3 separate regions of the Homo sapiens genome follow, and all the other regions are linked to region 3. Evidence: promoter capture Hi-C in 16 types of primary human blood cells and fetal thymus (Javierre and others, 2016). All regions are on one chromosome and are shown on one strand. Each heading gives the region's core, a stretch centred on a gene start or on the middle of the fragment in contact. The rest is flanking DNA. Distances are from core to core; before and after follow the strand shown.

What was found. Contacts are between HindIII fragments. The CHiCAGO score rates a contact against its expected background, and 5 or more counts as called.
Region 1: a contact is called between a fragment that was not itself captured here and the fragment with the promoter of SLAIN1 in region 3, in 1 of 17 cell types (non-activated CD4 T cells). The highest score is 5.8, in non-activated CD4 T cells.
Region 2: a contact is called between the fragment with the promoter of KCTD12 here and the fragment with the promoter of SLAIN1 in region 3, in 2 of 17 cell types (fetal thymus and naive CD4 T cells). The highest score is 8.2, in fetal thymus.

The regions. Positions count from the first base shown.
Region 1 is chr13:77,041,395-77,044,094 of GRCh38, reverse strand. No RefSeq gene overlaps it. Among named protein-coding and RNA genes, the nearest start is that of FBXL3, 16 kb to the right of the region's middle. The HindIII fragment of the contact is 731 bases long and covers 887-1,617 here.
Region 2 is chr13:76,885,155-76,888,110 of GRCh38, reverse strand. It overlaps KCTD12 (potassium channel tetramerization domain containing 12), which reads left to right and starts at 1,706. Exons shown (of 1, transcript NM_138444.4): 1 at 1,706-2,956. The coding sequence starts at 1,963. The coding sequence ends at 2,940. RefSeq lists silencers at 1,479-1,908, 2,309-2,578 and an enhancer at 2,192-2,691. The HindIII fragment of the contact is 7,244 bases long and covers 1,005-2,956 here.
Region 3 is chr13:77,696,312-77,699,039 of GRCh38, reverse strand. It overlaps SLAIN1 (SLAIN motif family member 1), which reads right to left and starts at 1,353. Exons shown (of 7, transcript NM_001242868.2): 1 at 501-1,353. The coding sequence starts at 1,126. It overlaps MIR3665 (microRNA 3665), which reads left to right and starts at 924; the gene lies at 924-1,028. RefSeq lists silencers at 286-435, 596-835, 1,036-1,595. The HindIII fragment of the contact is 5,751 bases long and covers 1-2,728 here.

The sequences.
Region 1 (2,700 bases), core at 3-2,502, 650 kb after region 3:
AGCCATTGCACCCAGCCCCTTTTTGAAGTTCATATAAAGTAATAAAATCACTAATTTTTTATTCATTTTCTATAGACAACGGTGTGTTTAGGTACATCTTTTTGACACTCGAGTCATGAAATTGCCAAATTATTGATTGTTGACTCATCATACATCAGATTAGCAAAACTTTTGTTGTTGTTGTTGTATTTGAGACAGTCTCACTCTGCTGCCCACACTGGAGTGCAGTGGCACCATCTTGGCTCACTGCAACCTCCACCTCCCAGGTTCAAGCGATTCTCCTGCCTCAGCCTCCCAAGGAGCTGGGACTACAGGCGTGTGCCACCTCACCCAGCTAATTTTTGTATTTTTAGTAGGGATGGGGTTTCACCAGGCTGGTCTTGAACTCCTGACCTCAGGTGATCCGCTCGCCTCCGGCCTCCCAAAATTCCGGTATTACAGGCGTGAGCCACCGCGCCTGGCCAAGACTAGCAAAAGTTTTAATCACATTTTGTTCTAAATTCCAACTGTGGGAAATATAGAACTTAATTTGTCAATATAGAATTACTGACAAATTTAATGACATTTGTGTTAAGCATTTATGAGAAATTTAAAACAATCTTTGCCTTGAAGGAACTTAAAAAATAAAGATCAGATCTGAGCACAGGTAACTATTTTACAGAATGTTCTAATAAGTTTCATAAAAATATCCAAGCCAAATGCTTCAGGATTTAGGAAAAATCATTATTGTTTTGTCGTTGGGAGTGTAGCTAAGAGGCCATTTAAGCTGCCTTTTGAAGAATAAGTAGCATTTCAAGGAGCAGAGATGTGGAGAAAGGCATGAGAAATACCTAAGTAGGAAAATCTAGAATATGATCAAAGAACAGTAAGTATGAGTGTTCAAGCTTAGGATTGACTGAAAATGTTTCCAGAAAACACAAAGTACGTAGAGAGACTAAAGCTGTTACAAGAAAACTGGAGGGGAGAATGCAGTGAGGACACTGTCAGTATATTTGACTTGACACTGTCAGTATATTTGACTTAAATTCACAGGCCACAGGAATGAAACTAACCTTGAGAATGCCACACAGATAAGAGACTTTATGGACACTTAATAGCTGCGAAGAATACCATCTTGCGTCAGTTAACTTTGCTGGCAAACTGGTCAGCTCAGTTTGTAAATCGTAGAGGAAAAGAAACAAACTATTGAGATGGCTTGGCTAAAAAAGCCATCTCAAGTTATGAAAGGGATAAAATCAACAAAGCTGTGTAGTGAATACTCACAATGACTTCAACTTATCTTCATTTATGAGGAAGTCACTTTTAGTCAGGATCTCTAGCACCTCAAAACCAGAGAACATAAACATCTTAGCAATAAATTATGACAAAGCACAGGAAGGAGTGGCTTTGGCAGGCATTTTTAGCTCAAGCATCCTACACACAAGGACCATCCTTCAAACACTGCATGTAACATCCAAGGCAGGAGACAGAAAGCAGAATCACAGTGGTAGATGTCAGTGAATCTTCCTGGAAAGAAATTGTTTTTCCGTTATATTTTCAAGCCTAGGAAAAGCCATTTTTCTTAGTATTATGGCTAGACTGTTTAGGCCTAAAATCTCCCTATTTTATCAATAAGCTTATTTGGTTTTGGTTTTTGGTTTTTTGAGTTTTTTGGGTTTTTTTTTTTTTTTTTAAGAAAGGGTCTCACTCTGTCGCCCCAGCTGGAGTGCAGTGGCGTTATCTCGGCTCGCAGCAACCTCTGCCTTTTGGGCTCAAGTGATCCTCCCACCTCAGCCCCAAGTAGCTGGGAGTACAGGCACGAGCCACCATGCCCAGCTAATTTTTGTAATTGAAACAGGGTTTCACCATGTTGGCCAGGCTGGTCTCAAACTCCTGAGCTGAAGCGATCTACCTGCCTCAGCTAGGATTACAGGTGTGAGCCACCGCACCCAACCTCAATAAGCTTATTTGATAAAATATATGCAATGCTCCCTTTATTCACTTTTCATTCAGAATGTTTAGTAATTTGTATTGTTTTTCAGATTTTCAGCCCAATATATCTCCCTGCCCACTGTGTCACTGTATTCTACCTATACATCATCACGTGTTTCTGCTATTGGCTGTATGATGGAACACTGCGGCTCATTTTCCTGAAAACTGCCGATAGTGCATAGAGTGCTGGGATGGAAACCAGAAGCTTTGAATTCAAGCCTTGGTTCTGCCTTGTTTTTGCTTGGGTGGCCTTGAGTCAGCCACATACCTTTTAAAATCTCAATTTATTAGAAATTATTCCAAATCAAAATCAAATGAGAAGGTATATACAAAAGTGCTTTATCCCACAATAAACTATTCAAGAGAGAGCAAAGGAGAGGACATTTACTCAACACCTCCTAAAAGGCAGCCAGTGAAATTAGGCATTTTATTTAATCCTCCTGGCAACTCTGAGAGTAAAGCATTATTAATCCCATTTTGGCTGTTTAAAGAAATTATTTGCACTAGATTCCAGCTGTAGTTTAGCTTCAGAAAAAAAAATCCTGAGATGTGAATTCACAGCTTTCTGGGTTTAAAGCCCAAGCTCTATCACATCATGCTATTATTGTTACATTACTGCTAGTTCTATGAAAAGAAATACTAATTTATGAAATACATCTTATCCAAAATGGTTGGGACCAGAAGTGTTTCTGATTTCGGGTTTTTTCAGGTTTGGGAATATTTGCATTA
Region 2 (2,956 bases), core at 457-2,956, 810 kb after region 3:
ACAGAACAACAACAAAAAAAGAATGTTGAAATACATTCAGTATCAAAATCTGTACTTGCAATTAAGATAACTGGTTTGGGGGTTGATCTCATTTCAGCACACTGACATGAGCGCGGTAATTGTTGAGCAGATATAAACATTTCAAAATAAAAATGACATTTATCTGTGAGGAGACTGTGAAGCTCACTGGGTAGTTACACAGAAGGATAAATTTTATCAAGAACAAAGATCTTGCCTGATTTATCCTGATGTGTGGTCTATACTTCAAACTGATGTGATAACTGCGCAGACCCCTGACCCTTTGCTTATTGGGCTACACTGAAAGCGCTTTGGAGATTATTCGCCTTTGCATTCCTCACTCCCTGGTGCCCTGCAAATAATAGCAGGTACACAAGAAACATTCAGTGACCCAATCATTTCTTGACACCCTCCTCTGCACTCTTCTCTTTTTGCAGCATTCAGGAGCTCTTACTTATTTTCATACCCAAATCAGTGATCAGATAATCACTCATAAATATGACATTTCAGAACGTGCTGGGAGCAGCGCAGACAGTGTGTAGGGAGCCATCCAGAGGCCCCACCCACCTGGGAAGCCAGGGAAAGCTTCCAGGGGGAGGGGGCGGTTCTGTGGGCTGCAGTCCGAGGGGGAAAAGCAAACGTGTAGGCAGCAGGAGTTGAGAGATGGGATCCAGACAAGGGCCTTCAGATATATAAATATCCCTTTCTGAGACTGACGGGAACTTGGACAGGGCCGAAGAGTGACCGAGGCATGCGGGAGAGAAGGGGCGCCTGGACTTTTGGAAGGATAAACATGCAGGCGCCAAAGGTGGCTTTAAAAATTACGTTAGATCTGCAACTGTTGTGAGTCTAAGGGCGCGATTCAACGAAGGCTGAATGGGACCCGGAGACCGAACGTTCCGGAGTCTTACCCCTTCACTTCGAAGTGAAGTGCCTCGAAGGCCCTGCGGGAAGAGGGAATTGCAATTAAGAGCAGATTTGAAGCTTCATCTCATTTTGTCTCTGCAGCCAGAAAATAAACTATCGTAAAGCATCCTACTGCGGGACACTGAGGTTTGCTTTTTGTTTCTAGGTTTATTTATTTATTTTCCAGGCTGGCTGCAAGGCAACTTGAACAAAATCTGGCTGCGCTCGGACTGGGGCGGCTCTTTCGTCTCTCCAGGTTTTTCGCGTCTCTCTACTTTCAGTGACACGACAACCAACGATGGCAGGCCGCAGCTGCACTGCTGGAAGCGCCCAGTTCCGCAGGCGGGAGGGCCGGAGGCGGCCACGCATTTCCACTCCCGGGGCGACAGGCTTCCGAAAGTTCACGTCCTCCTTCCAGAGTCCTTGGGTGCGGGCTGGGGCGAGAGGGGAGGGGGCGCGGTGACTGTCCCTCCAAGGAGCTGTCTTCCGAAGCCGCCAAGTCTCGGGCGGGTCCTCTTCGGAAGAGGGAGAAAGTTGGGCGGGACCACGGGGCGGGGCTGGTGGGTGGGGAGCGGGTGGGAGTCCGGGCGCCCCCAGCGCTCGCGAGCCGGGGTGGAGCCAGCAGCCCCGCGTGGCGTCCGCGTTTAAGATGCAAATCGAGTCCCCGCTCCCCACCTCCCCTCGCCCGGTAAGCGAGGCTCCGCCGCCGCCCACGCCTCCTGCGCGCCACGGCACCAGAGCAGGCGGCTCTACTTAAGCAGCGCGCGGGCCGCGACCCGGCACTCGCCTGGAGCGCGCGGGCAAGGCGGGCGGAGCGCACTGGAACTCAAGGGGGCGCACAGCGGCGCGCTCGCACCGCTCGGCTCCGCGCGGCTCTAGGAGGTGGCGGCGGTGGCGGTGGCGGCGGTGGCGGCGGCGGCGGCGGCGGGGCGCAGGGCTGAGCGAGCGTCCGGGTTCCGGGGCTCCGGGGAAGGCGGTTGCAGCTCCTGAGTGCAGCGCGGCTTCCTGCCACTGTCCCGGCCCGGCCACCTCTCTGTCATGGCTCTGGCGGACAGCACACGTGGATTACCCAACGGGGGCGGCGGCGGGGGCGGCAGTGGCTCCTCGTCGTCCTCCGCGGAGCCACCGCTCTTCCCCGACATCGTGGAGCTGAACGTGGGGGGCCAGGTGTACGTGACCCGGCGCTGCACGGTGGTGTCGGTGCCCGACTCGCTGCTCTGGCGCATGTTCACGCAGCAGCAGCCGCAGGAGCTGGCCCGGGACAGCAAAGGCCGCTTCTTTCTGGACCGGGACGGCTTCCTCTTCCGCTACATCCTGGATTACCTGCGGGACTTGCAGCTCGTGCTGCCCGACTACTTCCCCGAGCGCAGCCGGCTGCAGCGCGAGGCCGAGTACTTCGAGCTGCCAGAGCTCGTGCGCCGCCTCGGGGCGCCCCAGCAGCCCGGCCCGGGGCCGCCGCCCTCGCGGCGCGGGGTGCACAAGGAGGGCTCGCTGGGTGACGAGCTGCTGCCGCTTGGCTACTCGGAGCCCGAACAGCAGGAGGGCGCCTCTGCCGGGGCGCCGTCGCCCACGCTGGAGCTGGCTAGCCGCAGTCCGTCCGGGGGCGCGGCGGGCCCGCTGCTCACGCCGTCCCAGTCGCTGGACGGCAGCCGGCGCTCGGGCTACATCACCATCGGCTACCGCGGCTCCTACACCATCGGGCGGGACGCGCAGGCGGACGCCAAGTTCCGGCGAGTGGCGCGCATCACCGTTTGCGGAAAGACGTCGCTGGCCAAGGAGGTGTTTGGGGACACCCTGAACGAAAGCCGGGACCCCGACCGTCCCCCGGAGCGCTACACCTCGCGCTATTACCTCAAGTTCAACTTCCTGGAGCAGGCCTTCGACAAGCTGTCCGAGTCGGGCTTCCACATGGTGGCGTGCAGCTCCACGGGCACCTGCGCCTTTGCCAGCAGCACCGACCAGAGCGAGGACAAGATCTGGACCAGCTACACCGAGTACGTCTTCTGCAGGGAGTGAGCTCCCCAGACCCCCT
Region 3 (2,728 bases), core at 104-2,603:
CCATCACTGCGCGGCTTCCGATGCCACCCGAGGAGGAAGAGCACGCAAATCCTGTCCAGCGTTCGTTTAAAACGAAAGAACAGTAACAGTCGCAGACAGAGGCCAACCCCTACCATCCCCCGTCATCCCTCCGAAAACACTGGGGAAAAGAGCAGCACTGAGCAAAAAGACAAGATGACATGGATTTTGCACTTAATGCTAACGAGGAGCTTGGGACCCAACAATCAGCAAATAGCAGAACCCATGGCAGATGGGGGGAAGGGGGGGCCGGTTCATCCGCAGTCGGAGCGATTAGAAAACAGGTTTCTGCCTTCATGAGAAGCCTCATCGTGGGAAGTGTCACCGCCTGGCTCAACACCTGCTGGGTCGGCCCCTCCGGGAGCCGCGGGGAGTCACCCCGGCTGCCGCGAGGGGACCCCCGTCCGCCCCCCGCCCCCGCTCCCCGGTGCCCGAAGCCCCCGAGGCCAGGGTCTCGGGGAAGGAGCGGAGCCAGGCAGTACCAGGTGTAGTCGTCCTCGTCCCGCCAGGCGGCTACGCTCTCCAGATCCAGCAATTCCACCTCGTCCAGCAGCGTGGGGGGCGGCGAGGGCGGCGCTGCAGCTGCCCCTGGCGGCGTCCCCGCGCCCCCCGGCTCCGGCCCGCCACCGCCCGCGCCGAAGAAGCCTGCTGCCGGCTTGAAGTAGACGAAGGGCGCCTCGGGTGGCTGCGCCAGGCTGCAAAGCAGGGAGGGCGCGGGGCTAGGCAGGCAGAAGGTGCCCGGGAACGCGGGGCTGGAGCCACCGCCGCTGCCACTACCGCTGCCGCCACCGCCCCCCGCGCCCAGCGCCAGCCCGAGCCCCAGGCCCCCTGAGGCCGCGGCGGTGGCCGTGGCGGCCGGGGGGCTCCGAGGACCCAAAGGCTGCAGGCCAGCGGGGGGCGGCGCGGCGGGCGGCGGCGGCGGCAGCAGCAGCAGGTGCGGGGCGGCGGCCGCGCTGGCCGCTCGACTCCGCAGCTGCTCGTTCTGCTTCTCCAGCTTGCGCACCAGCTCCTGCAGCTTCTTCACCTCCAGCTCCGCGTTCACCACCGGCCCGGAGCCCGCTCCAGAGCTGACCCCTGCCGAGGCGCATTTCACCTGCTCCGCCATCATCGTGGGCCCCGAGGGCGCCGCGGCCGCCGGGGAGTGCGCGCCGCCGCGCCGGCTCCTCGGGCCACGGGGAGGCTACGGCTCCTTCCCTGTCGCCCCGGCCTGGGGGGCCGACCACGCGCGGGCTGAGGCCGAGCCGGCGGTTCGCATCAGCACCGGGCCCTCGCCTCCGGCCGCGGCAGCCACCACCGAGCTGATCTGCACATGCTCAGTGCGTCCCTCCAGTCCCCTGGGCGTCGCGGCGGCTCCGGGTTTTAGCCGCGGCCCCGGAGCGGGGCGGGGCAAGAGCGCCGAGGGGGCGGGTGGGGGGGGGGGGGCGGAGAACCGTGGGGAAGCCCACCCAGGGGGCGGGGCCGGCAGCCCGGGTTGGGGCCGGGGAGCCGCACCCACCCTCGCTACCTAATCCCAGGGGCCTGATTGGACCTGGCCTGAACTTTCCCGCCACAAGCACCTCCTCCTGCCGCTTGGTGGGACAGTGAACTGCGCGGGTCTCTGAGGCGGTTGCGGGGACCAGGGGGTTCCCAAAGAAGCAGCTGCAGGTGCTGGCCCTCGAGTAGTGCACCACCGGCCCGCTGGTTTGCTCCCTTCCCAGCTCTCTGTTAGGCTCCGTGACAGCACTTAATAGCCACTGGCTAACGAATCCTATAGAAAACTTAAAGGCTGGGGATCGTTATTCTAAAAACCGAAAAGTGGAGATAGGGGGAACAGAAAGGCTTTGGGACCATGCCACTCATGTTCTCATTGGTAATAGAGAAGCAAAATGGTGGGAGACAGGAGACCGAGAAGAAAGAGAAGAAAGCCCTCTCTCTAAGAGGTAGAGTGGCCAGCTGCTAAGGAGACAAGTGTTTACTTATTTATTCTAAAATAGTCAAATTTGAACTGTTACCATCATTGTTTGTCACAATAAAAGAAGAACTGCTTTTTTTTTCATACTATGTATATTCATGCATTCCCCAAACAAAAGATCTTTGAGCACCTACTCTGTGCCAGGAACCATTCTAAGAGCTCGTGATGCGGGCAATGAGTACAATAGGCAAAAATGGTTATGGGGAGAAATATGAGTAAAATTGTTTAGTGCTCCTTCTATTAAATAATGTGTAAGTTATTAAAGTCAGACTTGCTGGTGGGAAAGCAGAAAACAGAAAACCTCAGAATTCTACCCAATACACTTTAATCTCACCTGCAAACCTGCTATTTCTTACCACTTGGAAAACGAGCAAATCTGCTTTTTTTAAAAGAGGCTTTTAAGCAGAAGAATTTAATCGAGTTGTGTTCAATGAATACTGACTGACTTAGCATTTTGAGTGTTTAACACAATCAGAGGAAAACCTGAGATTATATTATGAGAAAAATCTACACCACTGGTTCTCATCCTCAGATGATATACTATCTAGTGAAAGTCCTTGCTAGGGACTTTACATACCAATCTTTGTGACAATGTACCTCATTTCTCTGGAGCTGCTAACACATCGTATCTATTGGTTTCAGATATGGTTTTGTGTCTTCCTGCTCAGAAACACTTGTATCTTCTCAGTTGTTAATCTACATCTCTAGCTTCTGTGTGCAGGGTGGATGTTCTGCATTTAACATGCTTGGTGAGCGCTT